2 separate regions of the Homo sapiens genome follow, and region 2 is linked to region 1. The links are contacts of gene promoters, found by promoter capture Hi-C in human tissues and cell types (Jung and others, 2019). All regions are on one chromosome and are shown on one strand. Each heading gives the region's core, a stretch centred on a gene start or on the middle of the fragment in contact. The rest is flanking DNA. Distances are from core to core; before and after follow the strand shown.

The links. The method cuts DNA at HindIII sites, captures the fragments that hold promoters and counts their contacts. A contact is called where the count stands out against the background at its distance.
Region 2: a contact is called between a fragment that was not itself captured here and the fragment with the promoter of FST in region 1, in 1 of the 25 tissues and cell types used here (spleen).

What each region holds. Positions count from the first base shown.
Region 1 is chr5:53,479,279-53,482,159 of GRCh38, reverse strand. It overlaps FST (follistatin), which reads right to left and starts at 1,531. Exons shown (of 6, transcript NM_013409.3): 1 at 1,284-1,531. The coding sequence starts at 1,368. RefSeq lists an enhancer at 229-298. The HindIII fragment of the contact is 11,038 bases long and covers 1-2,881 here.
Region 2 is chr5:53,784,076-53,787,316 of GRCh38, reverse strand. It overlaps LINC02105 (long intergenic non-protein coding RNA 2105), which reads left to right. Exons shown (of 4, transcript NR_147168.1): 2 at 2,173-2,237; 3 at 3,187-3,241. Among named protein-coding and RNA genes, the nearest start is that of LINC02105, 34 kb to the left of the region's middle. The HindIII fragment of the contact is 6,838 bases long and covers 1-3,241 here.

The sequences.
Region 1 (2,881 bases), core at 282-2,781:
GCCCGGAGCTACCCCGCGCGGCCTCCAGGCGCAGCCAGCCCGACGGGCCCGTTTTGCAATCCGCCAGACCGGAGCACGCCCGCGGCCACCGCGATCTTTCGAAATCTCCGAGGGCTGCTTTCCTCCGCGCCCACGTCCGGGCACCAGGCAGAGCCTCTCCTCTAAAGGCGGGCAACCCAGCGCAGTGCCATGCAGACGGCGAGGGGCAGTGCCCAGGAGGGCAGTTTACAACATACTTAAAATGTTAACGCTGAAGCAGGGAAAGTAATGCCTTAAGGTGGGGGGAGGGGGGAGTCTTCCTACCATTTCACGGTTATAAGTACCTATCTCATACCTAGCAAGAAATATTTGCAAGTGATTTCTCCCTCTTCCCCCTTTTTAATGTTCGGATTTGGGTCGAGAAGACTTCTCATGAATCACCAATATGACTTTAACAATCATTGGATCGCAAGCTGCTATTATTATTTTAAACATTCTGCCCAAAGACTAATTGAAATAAACAAATCTATTTTTAAAAGGCAAGCTTCAGAAATTTGCTCTTAACCCATTTCAGAATTTAAGTCAGTTATGGGCTGCTCACTGTTTTACAGAAAGCTAAGGGTCAGAAAGAAGAATGAGGCAGAGGGGAAAAAAACTGTAAAGTGCTCAAAGCACTTTGGGGTAATAATTTGGCTTTTTTTTTTTTTTTTTTTTTTTTGCGAGAATGGGGGATGGGGTTGGAAGAAGCATCCACTAGGCAGAAAGCTACTTCCCTTGAAAATCTTCAGCACCCACATTTCCAAGTTTGGGCAAAGTTTCTGAAACCACGTCCCCCAGCCACCAAATAAAATTCAGTATCTCTCCCCCAAACCCCCAGGTTTTCTTTTCTTTCTTTCCTTTTTTTTTTTTAAGTATCCAAAAGATGTGGGAGGGAGAGAGATGAGACTGCAAATGGGTCGACTGAAATCTCCAGGCTACTACTGATACTTGTTCCCTTCTTCAGAGCCAAACAGAGGAGATCACATCTAAAGTTATCATGGCCAGAACTTGGAGCATTTAACCCTAACTACTAAGACCCCAGCTCGCTCCCTTTCCTTTTTCAAGATAACCGAGCTCCAAACTCAGTTCCCAGTCCTAAAGTGTCATTGCCTACAATTTTCCCACTCCTCTCCATCCCGGAGTCCCCAAGTTGGTTCAACATCTTCCGAGAGCAGCGTTGCTCAGAACAGACCAAGTGGAGACCACAGAAAAGTCGACCCCCCTGTCCTCAGCCAAGCCTCCCCAGCGCATCCCCACTCGCTTACCCTGGGCACTGCGGTCCTCCATGAACTGGCAGAGCAGCAGCAGCAGGAGGCAAAGCCCACCCGGCTGGTGCCTCGCGCGGACCATCCTGGGGGCAGGCGCGGGGCGAGGAGCGCAGCGGCGCGGGGAGCCGGCGCGGCGGCGGGTGGCTCGGGCGAGCGGCGCGCGTCGCAGAGGCCAGCGGCGGAGGGCGCAGCGATCCCGGCGCAGCCCCGCGCTCGCCGCCGGCCGCCCGCGCGATTCAATGGACGTCAGAAGCCGGGCGCAGCCGCGCTTTAAATCTAGACGGGGGTCTCCGCGGTTTGCGGTGGGCGGTCTCCCAGTGTGTGGGGCTGTGGGAGGGCGGCCGCGAGCGAGGGTGTGCGCGGCTCCTTGGGGGTGGGGAGCTTTCAAAAGTTCAGTGTGAATCAGGTGACATTTCCCACCTTCTGGAAACCCTTCCCAATTATCTTTCGGAGGTGCCCGAAATCAAAACGGCTGGAAGGGAATCGTCGAGTTCTTATTTGCGTAGGAGCGAGAGGGAGGGGGAAGGCGACCGGGGCGGGGGTTGGGGGCTACGCGTCGGGGGTGGGGAGTGGGGAAGAACACCCACTTCAAGTCCTGCTCGCCGCCGCTCGCCGGCAGCGCCGGCGCGCCCGGGGTGGCGGGTGTGTGTGTGAGTGTGTGTGTGAGTGTGTGTGCGCGCGCGCGCGAGTGTGAGAGGGAGGGCGCGGTGGGGGCGCTGGAGGCGGTGGCGGGGGGAACCCGGGAGTTTGTCTCCGTGCTGCCTCTCCTCCGCTCCAAAGAGACTTTTGCAAACGGCCGAAGAGCCCCGGGCTGCCCAAATATCCCGCCCCGGGTCGGGTCGGAGCGCGCCGGCCTCGCGGCGGTTCCGGGCACCCGCAGCCTGGGCGCGGGACCCGCGAGGTTTTGTGTCTGGGTCTGTGAGTGCCTGACTTTGCAGCCACCCCCAGCCCAGAGGTGTTGCTAGGAACCCCGGCCCCGGCACCTTCCACCCTGGCAGAGCGCTACCGAGACGCGGCCCTTCGTCTGGACTAGTCGGAAGCAAACAAAAATGTTTAACACCTCAGGCCCGGTCTCCCCGCGGCACAGCCTCGCCCTCTCCCTTTCTTTTCTCCCCTTTCACTTCGCGGCGTCTGGAGTCGGAGCCCGGAGCGGGGGCGCCGACGTAGGCGGTCTGGCCCCCCCTTCCTCTCCCGCCTGGAGACTCCCCAGTTTCTGTCCTGTGTGCCTCTGTCTGTCTCTCAGTCTCCTCGGCTCCAATCTCTCTCTCTTTCTGTCTCGTCTTCTCTCTTTTCGCGGAATAAAAAAGATTGCAACATCCATAATGAACTTCTGTAGCCTCAGTTTATTAAGTACAGTGCCTGGCATTCTTCGCTGAAAGTTGGCGGGTCTCTCATTTATAACATTTTTGGCACCGCTGAATGAAACTGAGGAGGCGATATTTCCTTTTATATAAAACGATTACTTCACGGAAAATGCTATATTGTTTATTCCAAAGCTGCCTTTTAAATTTGTTCTTTTCGCATCTGAAGCCCGAAGGACAACAGATAGCGAAGTATGCAGACAAAATTCTTGGACATTCGCAGGTCACTGGGAT
Region 2 (3,241 bases), core at 249-2,748, 310 kb before region 1:
CAAGGTTGAAAAATGTCCACAGCCAATTCCCAGGAAAAATGACCCTTTCTGTCTAGTAGTCTCTCCCATTTTAGTTCCTTGTATTTGTATGAGTTTCCTTCCTTCTCTTGTACTTCTTGATGTTCATGAAACATATACCCAGTACCTACCTGTTCATGAAATCTGTACTCAGTATGCTCTCTGGCCAACTACTTCGTAGTCCCCTGAGAGCACAGCCAGTCACATTTGGTAGAAATGGAGAAGCATCTCCTCTCTCCTGCCATGCAGACTGGCTTCAATCTCCTCAACATCACTTCAGTCAACTCTAGTCTTAGGCTTTGACATAATGTAACCGCCCAACATGTTCACCTTGCCTGCTGCCTAGAGAGAGCTGATTTATGAAGACAGGGGAATTGCAAAAGAGAAAGAGTAATTCACAGAGCAAGCTGTGCGGGAGACTGGAGTTTTATTATTACTCAAGTCAGTCTTACTGAGAACTTGGGGATCAGAGTTTTTCAGGATAATTTGGTGAGTAGGTGGGTCAGTGAATCGGGAATTCTGATTGGTCAGGTCTGAGATGAACTCATAAGGAGTTGAAGCTGTCCTCTTGCACTGAGTCAGTTCCTGGGTCAGGGTCACAAGACCAGATGAGCCAGTTTATCAGTCTGTGTGGTGCCAGTTGATCCATCAAGTGCAGGGTCTGCAAAATATCTCAAGCACTGATCTTAAGTTTTACAATAGTGATATTATCCCCAGGAGCAATTTGGGGAGATTCAGAATTTTGTAGCCTCCAGCTGCGTGACTCCTAAATCATAATTTCTAATCTTTTAGCTAATTTGTTAGTCCTGCAAAGGCAGTCTAGTCCTCAGGCAGAAAGGGGGTTTGTTTTGGGAAAGGGCTGTTAACATCTTTGTTTCAAAGCTAAACCTAAACTAAGTTTCTCCCAGAGTTAGTTTGGCCTATAGCCAGGAATGAACAATGACAGCTTGGAGTTTAGAAGCAAGGTAGAGTTGGTTAGTTCAGATCTCTTTCACTGCCTCAATTATAATTTTGCAGTGGCGGTCTCAACAATGTGATGCTGTATCTTTAAGAGAGAAAGTAAGTCACAAAATAAAGTATAACCTATATTTGCAATGATAATTGAAATGAGGTTGCTTTGGTATAGTGAAGACTAATTTTTCACTTCATTTTCCATTTTACGGCCCATCAGTAACTTCCTGTATCTTCTTTTTGGCAGACGTCCTTGACCACAGAGGAGAAACTGGCAATTTAAAAACAGCCAGATATCTGGTGCTATTTCAAAGTTATAATAGAGACCTGTGATACCTTGCTGTGGTGTTGGACTTAGTTTATGTCTTCCATCTCCCTTTGGTAGACAGAAGAATTAGTCTGGTTTATGATGAATTTTGTATATGTTTACTGGAAAGTGTTCTGCCTTAAAGAAAGTTTTCGTAATAGCCAAAAGCACATTGCAGGAAGATGCCCTGCATAGACCTGTGTGTGCTTGTAAGTGGCAAGTTTCAGACATCAGAGAATGTGGCTTTCTCTTGTGTTTGAAAGTACAGAGAGTTTTATGGATTCCCAGATGCTAGGCTAAGGACGATTAATATATAGTCTGTTGGCCTCAGTCATCTCTAGCTATTCATCACCCGATGATACACTCAACCATGTTCATGAGTTTAAAGAATCAGAAAGTCAGAAAAGGGTAAGGGCAAATGATCTGAAATATATCAATGGAAGCTCATTTCTAATTGGTGCTATCGTTTAGGTTTATGACAGGTTCTTCATAAACCACTATGTGTGTGTAAAACACATCAGAGACTTCTCACACCAGAGCAAACCAGACTAGACAGAGTTATTTCACACAGTAATCACCAAACATTCCTATCTTTTAAATATAAGGAGCCAATCTATTGTAACCTCCTCTGCAAACACTGTTGTATTTATTCTTTCTCTTTTAATGCTTGACACTTAACCTGAATGGCTTCTTTTATGTATTCAGTTTGAAAAAACAGGATATAGAAAGCATCATTTGATTTTTAAATTTCCATTCCTGGGTAGATGTTTTGGTTATTAAAAAATAGCTCAACCCTATTTGTTTGAGACATATATGCAGGTAAATGGGTACATTTAGGGATTTATTTATTTATTTATTTTGTCTTTCTATTTCCCTGTCCACATTTGTGCTTGTAGATCTGTGTCTCTGGAGATCCCTTTGCTCAGCCATCAGATCAAGCAGGCATCCATGGTTCAGAATGGTAAGCAAGACCATGCAGTTAAAAAAAAAAAAAAAAAAAAGTTGGTGAGCAGGAAGAATATATAGGCACCATGAGTCTGCACTGAACAGAGCAGGAGCAGCTTGTCCAGGGAAGTCAGAGTCGCACCAGGGGTGTAGCTGGAGCATCTACCACAGGATGGTTGTGTCTGCCAGGGTCACTAATTATTTTGCAGTCAGAAAGTGCCTGGTGAAAGGCTTAAAGGAGAAATTCAATGCAGTTTCCTTTTATCTGCCTCTCCAATTGATGTCTATACAGAGCAAACAGGGCTCCCCAAACACGCCAGTCTGTTTCAGATACACAAGATTAAGTAGCTAGTGACATTCAAGACCAATCGGCCCACCCAGGAGGATTGAAACCAGTGGAAAAGCTGTCAGATTTCGCCTTTTCTCCATTAATCTTAAAGCTTTTCAGTGGTGCCAGGTCGCATCTCCATCAGACAAGCTGAGAAGAGTGTCCCGCAACTTTCTACACCCCCCACCCCCACACCAAGGAGAGTAACCCCTTCATTGCTGAGCTGATCTCTTAGGATATAGGGGATTCTTTTCACGGCCAGGAACAGATCTTCACTGGCTCCACTGCTTTTCAATACTGGAGGAAGCTGGGAGCAGAAGGCGGGGTCTTTCTTCCTTACAAGTTCATGGCTGGTCCACTCCCTGGAGGCTGTGCCACACAGACCCCAGAGATCAGCTGCCCTTGAGAAGAGATGGCTTTAGGGGTGACCGTGGGACAGCTAAGGAAACAGGTGTTCCCCTAGTAGTCTGGAAGCTTCACCTACCTGACACAGTGTGTGGAAAGAGAGAGGGAAAGCTAGAGGGAGAGAACACAGGGAAAGATGAGAGAAAAGAAGAAAGAAGGTGTAAATAAAGAGAATGAAGTGCGAATTTGTAACGGTCCTTTCCCCATGCCTCATTTTAAATCCCTTTGGAAGCAGGTGATGACCTGGGCAAGAGCTCACCAGTAAGGAGCAAAGGGGCCCGCCTGCC